2 separate regions of the Homo sapiens genome follow, and region 1 is linked to region 2. The links are contacts of gene promoters, found by promoter capture Hi-C in human tissues and cell types (Jung and others, 2019). All regions are on one chromosome and are shown on one strand. Each heading gives the region's core, a stretch centred on a gene start or on the middle of the fragment in contact. The rest is flanking DNA. Distances are from core to core; before and after follow the strand shown.

The links. Contacts are between HindIII fragments. The study calls those that stand out against the background at their distance.
Region 1: a contact is called between a fragment that was not itself captured here and the fragment with the promoter of TRIM32 in region 2, in 1 of the 25 tissues and cell types used here (dorsolateral prefrontal cortex).

What each region holds. Positions count from the first base shown.
Region 1 is chr9:117,400,832-117,406,914 of GRCh38, forward strand. All of the region lies in intron 1 of ASTN2 (astrotactin 2), which reads right to left. Among named protein-coding and RNA genes, the nearest start is that of ASTN2, 11 kb to the right of the region's middle. The HindIII fragment of the contact is 5,229 bases long and covers 1-4,338 here.
Region 2 is chr9:116,685,288-116,691,359 of GRCh38, forward strand. It overlaps TRIM32 (tripartite motif containing 32), which reads left to right and starts at 2,018. Exons shown (of 2, transcript NM_012210.4): 1 at 2,018-2,094. The region is part of intron 16 of ASTN2 (astrotactin 2); the gene reads right to left. RefSeq lists enhancers at 1,685-2,004, 2,445-2,494 and a silencer at 2,075-2,274. The HindIII fragment of the contact is 20,788 bases long and covers 1-6,072 here.

The sequences.
Region 1 (6,083 bases), core at 474-2,973, 720 kb after region 2:
ACCACAGACACCCAGCAGAACTGGGACCAAAACCCACGATTCCTAGTTCTAGTCCTCTCCACCATATTACACTGCCTCTGGGTTCCATGAGATCTTTAACCACATGACTTGCTTCGAGTGATCCTAAGCTCTCTCCAGCTGCAAAAGAGGTAGGGAGGGGGCTGGTATTAGGGATTAAGGTACAGGCTTATTTACTTTTGTTTATTTAACGAGCACATAGGTAGCATGTACTAAGTGCCGGGTACTGCTGAACATACTTTATAAACTTTAGCTCCTGGAATCCTCCTCCTAATAAAAAACAGAACAACCTGATGAGGTAGTGATCCATCAGAAGTGGTGTTCACAAACTATCACCCTGATTTCTGCCCATTTTGTCAGGAAATATCTACTCAGAACCTACTATGTGATGTTCCTCAGCTACGTAGCTGAGGGAGCAAAATGATGAACAAGACACACTCCCTGCCTCCAAATACCTGTCAGGTAAAGGCTTTTAAAAATAATTGAGATAGCTGAGAGTGTGGTGTATAAGGGTGCTACTTTGGTCCGGGAAGACTACTTGGAGGAGGTAATATTTGAGTTTTGTGAGCAAGGGAGGAAATGGTAGAAGGCAACTCAGAGAAAAAGGCAAATTATTTAGGATTTTGCAGACACTGAAAAAGAATGAGGATTTTATCCTAAAAACAATGAGAAACAATTGCAGGTCGTAAACAGGGGAGTGGCAAAATATAATTTATTTTTTGGAAGACATCACTCTGGCTACTGTGTAGAGCAGAGGTTGGCAAACGTTTTCTGTAAAGGGCCAGTTAATAAATATTTTAAGCTTTGCAGGCTAGACACTCTCTATTGCCACTGCTTGACTTTGTCATTATAGACCATAAGCAGCCACAGGCAACACATAAACAAAGGAGTGTGGCTGTGTTCCAGTACATTTTTATTTATAGGTACTGACATCTGAATTTCATATGATTGTCACATGTCAACAAATATTATTCTTCTCTTGACTTTTTGTCAACTATTTTTAAAAAGTTAATAGTCTTATGAGCTGAACAAACAAACAAACAAACAAGCAATTGTTTAGATTTGGCCCATGGGCTATATATAGTATGGCATAAAGAAAGGACAGAGAAGGGAGAGGCAGCAGGAAGACCGGTTAGGAGGCTGATATGGGAAAGGATGGCAGCTTGGATGAAGGTGATGCCAGTGGAAACTATGAAAAGTTAATTCTGAAAATCTTTTCCTGTTGTTGTTTTTTTGAGACAGAGTCTTGTTCTGTCACCCAGGCTGGAGTGCAGTGGCACGATTTCAGCTCACTGCAATCTCCACCTCCCAGGTTCAAGAGATTCTCCTGCCCCGGCCTCCTCTGTAGCTGGGATTACAGGCACCTGCCACCACACCTGGATAATTTTTGTGTTTTTAGTAGAGATGGGGTTTCACCATGTTGGCCAGGCTGGTCTCAAACTCCTGACCTAAAGTGATCTGCCTGCCTCCGCCTCCAAAGAGCTGGGATTACAGGCGTGAGCCACTGCACCCTGCCTGAAAATCATTTAAGAAGCAAAACCATCAGGGTTAGCTGACTGAAAGGATGAGAGGCAAGGAAAACGATGAAGAATGACTGCTTAGCTTGAAAAACTAGGCTAATAGTTTGATTTCCTGAGATGGGAAGATGTGGGTAGAGCAGGTTTAGGGGGCAAATCACACATCAATAGTGTGATCCCAGACAAGAAGGAGAGAAACACAGGTTTCCTACGGGCTTCTGAATAAAATAAAGGACGCTCAGTTCACTTTGAATTTCAGATAGTCAGCGAGACATTTTTAGTATAAGTATGTCCAAAATACTGCATGGAACATACTTATACTAAACAAGTATTCATTATTTATCTGAAATTTAAATTTAAGTTGGCATCATGTATTTTTATTTGCTAAACAGAGCAACCCTACATGGAGTGGGGTGGGGTGGTGGTGGTGGTGTGATGGAGGGTATATAGGTCTCCAGGAAAAGAAAACCTAAGCCCAAGAGGAGAAAGAGAAGGCTCCTTAGAGATGACACCCCTTAGAGCAGATGCTAGAGCTAAGTCTAGGAGCTGGCCAGGTGAACGAGGAATACAAAAACAATCTAAACAGAGAGAAGAGAATAAGCATGTTACCCTCAGACATTTGCAAGTAATTAATGAGGCTAGAGCCTCGAGGGAGGAAAGGAACATTGGAGGATGAGGCTGAAGAGCTTCTAACAGGGCTTCACTTCACAGAGGTTTTCTAGGTAAAGGCCAGGGTGTCAATACACTTGCTGAAGTTCAGATTCCCAGGCCTCTCCCCAGGAGCCTCAGCAGGTCTGGCCTTGAGAGCCTGAGGTCTACCGTGATTCTGATGATCAGCTAACTTGAGGAAAGCCTGGGTTAAATAATCTGGGAACTCTTCCACCTACAAATCCTGGGAGCCAAACAAGTTGCTGCTGGCTGTAAAAGTCTTGAAAAGAGTAATTCAGATAATCAGAGGAAAGGAAGCATTGAATAAGTGTGCAGCCTCCCATGGGGACCCTCTAGAATGGAGCTCTGTCCATTTGGAGGACAATAGGGAATCCAGAATGTTTGTCAAAGGACCAGTCCTGCTCCTGAATAGTCACCCTGTCTGGCACCTGGCTCTAATTTGGTGCTATCTCCCAGCTCTGTGCAAGTAGACCAGACGTCTTCCTGTGCCTTCCCCCGATGCCCCACCCCCTTCCCTCCTCCGCCCTCAGCCACCACTGAAATGATTCCCCCAAATGCAGCTATTACTGTGACTGGAAATCTCTTTACTGCTGATTCTGCTAATGGAAATGTTCCTTCCCTTTTCGGCTGCTTGCAAAGCCACTCGTGACTTCCCTGGGTGCATGAGAGCAAGGCTTTGTCAGCCAGCCACCACCAGAAGGGAGAGGATTCTGCCCCGCCTGCTCCCACAACACCCACCTGCCTTAGACTCAGTCTCTAAGAGCTCTTCTGTCCCAACTGTCCTCAAACAACCCCGGAATTCCCTGCTTCCCCCAGCTTCCCCCAGCTCCAAGAGAATGAGCAGACATCAATGGTCAATTTCATCCTTTTTTGCCTTGCTGGGGAGGAGGGGAGGTGGAGAGAGGAGGCATAAGAGGAGCATGAGGGAGTGGAAAGAGGGGGAGGGGAAAGGAAATTTACATTCATTATTGATTCATACCTCCACCTCCTTCCAAAAAAAGGATTCCAGGTGGCGAAGAGGCACAGAGCCCAAGCTGTGTGCCAGATGCTGCGCTAGGTGCTTTGCACACACTATCTCCATAAGGATCACACAGCTTAGTGTAAGTAAAAAGTTAGCACAGTGCCCAGTGCTGACTAAAATGTGGTTATGGAGGGCTCTCCAAAATTAAGTGACTATTATGTTTTCTTCATGTTATTGATGGGTAAGCAGAGGCTCAGAGAAGTGGCATACATAAATCTAAAGCTAGGAATTAGCACATCTGGGATTTGATCCCAGGGCTTTTGGTCCTCAGACCTAGCAAAAGTCTCACTCTAGCACACTGCCACCATCAGAGGACCTGAGCTAGAGACTTGGTTGTGCTGTGGATTAGCTGCAGGACCTTGGAAAATGTATTTGTCTTCGCTACATAGATGAAGGAGTTGGGTTGGATCTCAAAGGCATCATTTTACCTCATTCTAATAATCTAGAAGGATACACTATATATTTGGATTTATATAGCATTATAATATATTACGTATGTGTGTGTATGTATGTATAATATAGATCCCACATTCAAGGAGGAAACACGAAAACTGCACAATGATGCTAAGGAGTACTGAGTGGAAAAATTTGACAAGGTTGAGCAGGAGTGAGAAGCAAGTTCACCTAGCCAGATAGCGGCTACATCTCAGACTCCAGACACCCTGATCATTTCCCAAAAAAGGACATAGAGCTTATACAAATTTCTCAGAGGACAAGATCACTGATCCCCTAGTAAACACTTGGCAGAGCATGAGGTGACAACTCTCTAAGAGTTGGGAGGAAGGAAGAAAAGGGGGAAAAAAAAGAAGGAAAGGGGATGGGGAAGAAAGGAGGGAAGGTGGAAAGAATAGAGGGAGGGAAGGAGAGAGGAAACCAAGAAGGCACAGAAACATAGGAGTTTGCTTGTCAAGTGGGTCCAGGAGTAACAAGAGGCATCTGGAGAGTATGAGACAAGGCCTAGATGCTGTCTTGGCAAAGCAGCAAGGAGCAAGCAAAGGGGCCTGGGGAGCTGCTAAGTCAGCTCCTGGCAGCACAGAACAAGGTGCTCAGTCCCTTGGGCCTGTGAGGCTGTCACACCTGAAGTTCCTATATAAGAAACGCCTGCAGCTTCTTGGTCATGAGAAGAGGATGACATAAGAAGTAAAAAAGTCTAGAGATGAAAAGTTGAGAGCATCTCTTGTTCTATGCAGCATGCAAGGCAGACAGAACATAGACTATGGAACCAGGCAGACCTGGATTTGGACTGAGCTTAGCTGTATAATAGCTGTGTGATCTTGGGTAGGTTCCTTCACTCCTCTGAGCCTCAGAACTCACCCTATAACATGGGATGAGCTACATCTGTCCTTCAGCACTGTAGAAAGAATAGATAACAAATGTACCATCATGGCACCTGGGACATAGTACATGTTACATAAAATGGTCACGGTTTTCATAGCCTATCCTATGTAGGATGATAAAGTCCAGTTACATTACAACTCTGGAATTCCAACTCCTCCTGTCCCCAGTTTCCCAGCTGCCCTTCCCTAAGATGGAAGGAAAACACATAGGGGTCAGTAGATCTGGGATCTGGCATCTGCTTTACCACAGGCTTGGTGACCTTGATTTCCCCATCTTTATATAGAAGTGTTTCAGTTAGATAATGTCCTAAATTTTTCCATTTCTGATATTTGATAATCCTGGAACCATGGTGTATCATTTCCCTGAAACTTGTATTGTCTCTTCGTTTGCTACAATGCAAAGTTTCTAATCATTTACCTGGTTTCCAAGCTGCTCAAGACAGAGTCTTCTCCAAACACAATGATCTTTCCTCTAATCACATTGTTCTCATTAGCCATCCTGCAATCACCCCAAAATAATCAGGAGACAGGAGAAGGTAGCAGCAATGGCTATGGGTGCTTAGAAGAGGGAAGGCTCTGTGGGATGGATAGTGTTTAGGCTCACTCTTAACAGGGTAGTGCAAATTCAGCCCATCTCAAGTTTTGTCTACTGTGGATTCTGGGATGACACTTAGCAAACACAGAGTTCTAGTTCTCTAAGATCTCCTGTACACCTACAATGTGCCAAGTAAAGGGTGAGTCACCACAGCCCCAGAGATGAAGGAGGTACATTAGCTGCTCACAGGGTACATAGGCAAACAGCGTGAGACACATGAGGAAACACACAGCGTAAATTCTGGTCTCACTCTGCTCCAAGCCACCATTACTTTTCATCAGTAGAGACTCCTTCAGGCTTTCCTGCACCCATCGTTGGTCCTGTACAGAGCAGCGTAGGGAATTCTTTTGAAACATAAGTCAGACCTTGGCACTGTTTTGCTTAAAATTCTACAGAGCTCTTGATTTCACTCAGAGTCAAAGCCCAAATCCTGACAGTAGTCTGTACAGCCCTACATGACTGTTCTTTTCTTCTCTGACGTCTTGTCCTGCCACCCCCCTCCTCCACCACCACTTGTTCACTGCATTCCAGCCACACCGACCTTCATGCTGTCCCTTGAAAGGTCCAGGTGTGCTCCTAAGCTAGATAATCAGCTAGGATTATCTAGCTAGGAGCTGTTCTCCGCCTGGAATGTGCTTTTCCTAGATGCTGCTTGGCTAACTCCTTCCCCTTCTTTTAGCCTTTGTTCCAATCTCACATTCTCAATAAGCTCTTCTCATTCTATCCTATTTAATATTAAAACCCGTCTCCTTATCTCAGAACTCTCGATTCTCTTTTCCCTTAGTTTTTTCCCTTTTCCATAGAATTTTTCATCTTCTCACATACTACATAACTTATTTACTTATTATGTCTGTTGTCATTGTCCCCTAACACACACACACACACACACACACACACACACACACACACACAACACAGAGGGATAA
Region 2 (6,072 bases), core at 768-3,267:
TCCTGGCTCACTGGCTTCCCCCAACCCACCAAGTTATCCTTAAAATCTCTGTTCCCCAAATGCTCAGGGAGATGACTTGAGTAATCATAAAACTCCAGTCTCCCGCACAGCTGACTCTGCGTGAATTACTCTTTAACTATTGCAATTCCCCTGTCTTGATGAATCAGCTCTGTCTAGGCAGTGGGCAAGGTAAACTCCTCAGGTGGTTCCACTGATATAGGTGATTTAAGTGTTAAATAAAAATCTGTTACATTAAAATGCTGAATAAAGAGTGTTTAAAGCACTCCACAAAGATTATTTTTTAAATGCCTCTGTGTAAGAGGAATTCTAATATTGTGCCAGGATATGTCAAGCTATAAGATAAAAATTGAGTGCATTTCCTAGAATGCTTATTCTACTCTAAGATTTTGTGAGAGGTATAATAATTCATTTAACTGGTAATAAACATTAAAGAAGAGTCAAACACTGATTTTTGTTTTAAGGGAGAAGAGAGATTTTTTTTTTTCAAGACACTTGCTTGAGCTAGATCCCCAGGAGTATTTTTAACACTCCTCTGTAATTAGGGAAACATCAGTATGTCTGTATTGATACATATACACACATATATAATATGTATATATGTAAGACTATGAACAGTCCTAAATTTATACTTTGGGCTGATAACTGTGGTTTTCAGGAAAAAAAAAAATTTTAAACGGGTGCAAAGTCTCCCCAACTGGTCTAAGTGAGAAATCATTTGGCATTACCTCTCCCTTATCCCCTACCTGCTAATTACAATTTTTCAAATATAGTTATCATTAAGTGCAAACTACCATAATCTTGGCTTATCTTCATGGCAAACTTCAATTAGAAATTTAGAAAATGGGGAGAAAGAGTAAACAAGGTTAAGAGAGTGGGTTCTCAGATAGAATTGGGTACAAATTTGGGCTCCAACACTTAGGTATATGTGGCCTTGTGTAACCACCTAGGTTACACAACAGGTGTAGGTTAACCATCAGCTGCCTTATCTCATTAGGTCCTTATGAGGATTTAGTGAGCTATGCACCTGAAGTCCTCAGCTGTAGCCAGACAGCAAGTGTTCAAAGATGTTAGTCATTGTTTTTGTTTATTGTTTTATCATTGTGCAGGGTCACATAGCTAAGGGGAATTTCAAATCCAAGTCCATCCTACTTCAAACTCCTTTGTGCTCCTAAGCTGTACAGTATAGTCACCTTGGAGAGTAGGTGATTGGCCCCAAACTACTTCAGGGACTGCAGGTCGTGGCCAGCCAGTCCTGTATCAGACCTCGTCCTTGCCAGATGCCTAGTGCCCCAGATTCCCTCAAATCTCAGGCCAGATCACCTCCCACCTGGTAAGATTCCTCCACCTTCACCCGAGCAAAACTACACTTGGTTTGGGTTCCCGGGTACCTTCAGTCTGCAGGGACAGGGGCTGCAGAGTGTACTCCCCAAGTCTGCCTCTGCTGTCGGCCTCCCAGCTGAGTAGGCAAAACATTCCTTTACAGAGCAATGTGTTCATGGATAAACTTGTCTCTAGTGCAGCTCTCTGTCAGAGCACAGAACATGAGGCCAAAGCACTGCCCTTCCTAGGGAGTCCCGGTTCTCGACTTCCCCAGAATGGAAGTTTGATTTTTCCGTTGGCCCATTTCTCAGATGGAAAAACAGATTCAGTAAGGTGCCAACGCTTTGCTGAGGACTACCCTGGAGGCTACCGTTTTGTGAAGGGGTAGACATTGAGACTGGAGTCAGATACGCATTCTGGCTTATCTCCTGACTTACTGAGTGAACTTGAGCAGGTCCCTTTCGCCCATGGGCGTCGGTTTCTTCATCTGCACCAAGGAGACGGAAAACTGGATTACGTGTCGCTAAGGCCCCGGGTTCTCAGAGGAAAGCTCACCCCTGCAGGGCCGCCTTGCCCCGCGCGCTTGGGGCCAGCTGCACGACAAGCCCCAGCATGCTGGGGAGGCGGGGCTCAGTGACGGACAGGGAGCTCTGCGAATTGGCGCCCGGCAAGGGGTGCTCAACGGCGCGTGCGCAGAGGGAGGCAGGCGGGTGGGCTGCCGGCGGTGGACTCGTCGGAGCCGCGGGCGGTCAGGTAGGGGGCGGGAAGGAGGGTTGGGGACTGGGGACCGCGGCCGGAGTCGTGGGCCGTGGCTCAGCGGCCAGGCGGGGGAACGTGCCGGCGTGCAGCGGCCGCGCCCGAATGGCAGGGTGTGGGGACCGGATCTGGGGGGGGCAGGACTAGGGTGGGGGTGGGGCTGCGAGGGGCAGGCTCGGGAGGGATTCGTGGGGCTGAGGAGATCCGAGGAGATGCAGCTGGGGGAGGGGAGCGAGGGGCTCTGAAGAGATTTGCGGTTGCAGCATCTCGGGAGGTATGAGGTAATGTCGGGGCCCTGAGGAGGAACGGGGTGTAGCATGTGGGAGATGGGAGGGAATCAGGGCCCTGGAGGGACCTGGGTGCAGAATTTCAGAAATATGAAGGAACTGGGGGGCCCCGATGAGATTTGAGGAAATCTGGGGGCGCTAGGCATCTGGCAAGGACAGGGTCTGAGATGATAGGAGCAAGGTCTAGGGCGATCCTAAGTGCTATTGAGAAAGGGTTTTCGGAGTGGGCTGAGGGTGAGATTGAGGGGGTGGGGTGAGTTCTTGAGGGACTCTATCTTGTTAGCAGAAAGAAGGGAGCTGGCTGAGGTGTGAAGGCAGCACATGACATTCAGTGCATAAGAGGAAGGAGCAGGGTATGAGGGCAGCACAGTGCCCGATGGAATGCAGGAGATGGGGGCTCAGATTGAGGGAGAGCAGAAATCTGGGGTGAGGAATTGGGGCGTTGAACTGAGGTGCGGGGCTGAGTGTGGCAGAGATTTGGAAATAGGGATTAAACGATCTGAGTCCGAGGGATTTGGGGCATATGAGTGAGGAATTGACGAGGGTTGCAATATACAGCCCCAAAGATTGGAATTTGGAATTGTAAGAGGGTTGGGGACAGGGTTTGGAGAGGATTGAATCGTGGGGTGGAGATGTCCTAACTGGGCTATAAAATCAAAGGACCCTGAGTAGATTTGTGGATTGGTGTCTTGGGCTGCTAAAGAGATTTTCCTTAAATCGCTGCATGGGAGACAGAGGGAGTTCAGGGGACCCAAGGACCTAAAAGTAATGTATGAAACTGGATGAGTATATGAAGATGAGCAGAGTTCAGGTGCTGAGGAACAAAGTGATAAATCTTCAGTTCAGATAATCCTGAAGGAGTGTGGTAATCCCTGTGAAGGGCAGAATCTTCTTCATTTATTAAACAAAGATCCGTTATCATGAGGCAGGTATGGTATTGCCACTAACTCCATTCTGACCACCGGTCCCCCGGCCCACTGAAAGTGGTAGGCTTTGGGGAAGAAGAAGTGGAACTATTCAAGGTCATCTGCCTAAGCCCTTTTTCCCTGTACCCCCAAGCTACGATAGCAGATAGAAAGTGAGACCTCCAGGGGAATGAGTGGAATAATTTATCCTATATAAGATCCATTACAGCTTGAAGGGGCAGTGGCTCTGTGAGTGAGGTGTTTGGGCTCGGAGACAGACAAAACAACAACAACAACCACCAGAAAAAAAAAAGGGAACCCTTAGGTATTGAGCATTTAGTCCTGTGCTAGACTGTAAAGCAGTGGTTCTTAACCAAGTCTGGCTTTGTCTCCTAGGAGACATTAGGCAATGTCTGGAGATGTTTTTTGGTTGTCACAGGGTGGGGGATACTACTGGCCTCAAGTGGGTAGATTAAACATTAAACATAATGTTTTATGTTAAACATTTGACAATGTGTGGGATACGCCCTTCCCCCCCGCAGTAAGGAATTATCCTGCCTAAAATGTCAGTAATGCCAAAGTTGAGGCACTCTGACCTAGAGTCAGATACCCTGGGTTCAAGTCCTAGCTCTATCTCTTCCTGACTTTAAGTCCTAGCTCTATCTCTTCCTGACTTTGTGGCCTTGAATGAGTTACTTAACCACCCAGTGCCTTGGCTCTTCATCTGTAAAATGGGGTTATGATAACAAGACCAATGTCACAGAATTGTTGTGAGGATTTAGTGAAGTAAACTAGCATGCCTAGGATCTGGCACATAGTAAGTTCTCAAAATCTAGTAATTTTTAGTCTTGTATCTACTTCTTTACTCAGTTTTCATGACAGTCCTTCTAAGTAGGCTCTACTGTATTCAGTTTTACACATGAGGAAACTAAGGCTTAGGAAGTGACTTGCCTAAGTTTCCATAGCTAGGAATGACACAGTTAAGCTCATACCCAGATCTCTGTAACTCCGTATATTCCCGCTTTCCTTGCTTCTTCCTTGCTAGGGCCTGCTTAGTCTTATTTTCTCAGCCCATTCCCCTCTAATGAAAAAGAGGATTGCCAGTGAGTATCACTGACTATCAGATTGAACTCTAAAGTTGGGGGGTAAATCTCTCTGATTAGGTAGGGAGGAGCCCTGGACTTTGTTCTTGGTTTGCCCTTAGACCAAGACCTGGGGCTAGATAAGGAGAGGAGCCTGAGGTTATCAGGCAGGATGAGGTGCAACGGACTATAGGGTGAGGTATGGAGGCCATTGGCTTGAAAAAACACCTCATAGCAGGGACTGAGGCTGAAGGCAGTCATACTCTGAAGGAGAGTAACTACTGTTCTGTATGGTCTCTTTTGGTCTGCTTTTCCCTGGAACAGAATTTGGCTCTATCATTTCCAGGACTAGCTACAGGGTTGCTGAAGCCAGTTCAGAAACAAAGCTAGACTGTGTCTGACAGCAAGACTTAGCTGGAATATCTGTGCACATCCCTAAAAGAAAATATGTCATGGGAATTAAATCAGCCCTGTCTAAACTCCTTACTCTAATTTCCTATGTTACCTTGTCAGTAGCTACGGCACTTGTCCTGTCAGCCTCAATCTATTAAAAATGCAAATGATTATAATTTGTTGAGTGCTTATTATGTGCATTATCTTAGTGAATTCAATCCTGCTAACAGTCTAGGTTTTATTCCTTGTTTACAGATAAGAAAAATAACAGGTTAAATGACTTACCCAGGGCTACAGAGCAAGTAGCTAGGTTGGGATACAAACCCAGTTCTGTCTTACACCTATGTTACATTATAGTAGTTTTATTAGAAGCCTTTTCCAACCCTTCAGAGCCCCTATGTTTATGTCTGGAGAATAGTTGGAAGCCAGAAGTTTATAAGGCCCTTAAAGTAGATCATTGTCTATGCACACTGATGTGTAACCTTTGTGACATTCCCTCCATCTTGTCTTTCTGGTAAAACAATCAAATTTAAAAATCATTTCTAGGTGCCCTTACCAACCTCTCAGCCAGACTTTGTCTAAAGCTAGGGAACTATGAAACATCCTTTAAGTTAGTAATTTTATGGCTGGGAGTTGATACTGGGATTTGAATCCTTGCTCTATTACTTATTGGTTTTGAGACCTTGGACAGGCTACTTTCTCTGAGCATTGGTTTCCTTATTTTTGAAGAGGAATCACACTTACTTTACATGGTTATTATGAGACTATGAGAACATATAAAAAAATGCCTGACAATAAATAGTAGTTGCTTTAAGAGTGTTAGCAATTATGAGAGGAAGGCAGTGCTGGAAGAGAACTAAGTGTTGCTTTGTCATATTTATTTATTTATACAGGGTCTTGCTGTGTCACCCAGGCTGGAGTGCAGTGGTGCAATCACAGTTCACTGCAGCCTCAACCTCCTAGGCTCAAGTGATCCTCCCATCTCAGCCTCCCAAGTAGCTGGGACCACAAGTGCATGCCACCACACCTGATTATCTTTTAAATTTATTGTAGAGATGGTGTTTCACTCTGTTGCTCAGGCTCTTTGCCAGATTTTGATAACCCTAAGTAGTCTCTGCTAGTCTCCCCAAAATTCTCATCCCATTTTGTATATTTCCTAGGATCTCCTTGATCCTTTAATCATAATCTCATGATTAAATGAACAGATGTTATATGCAGAGAAAGGAATTGAAAGAGAGAGAGGGTTGAGGTTAGTTGGAGGTCCCTGAGAAGGGGCTATTGATTTTTCCTTTGTCTTATATTCCTTGA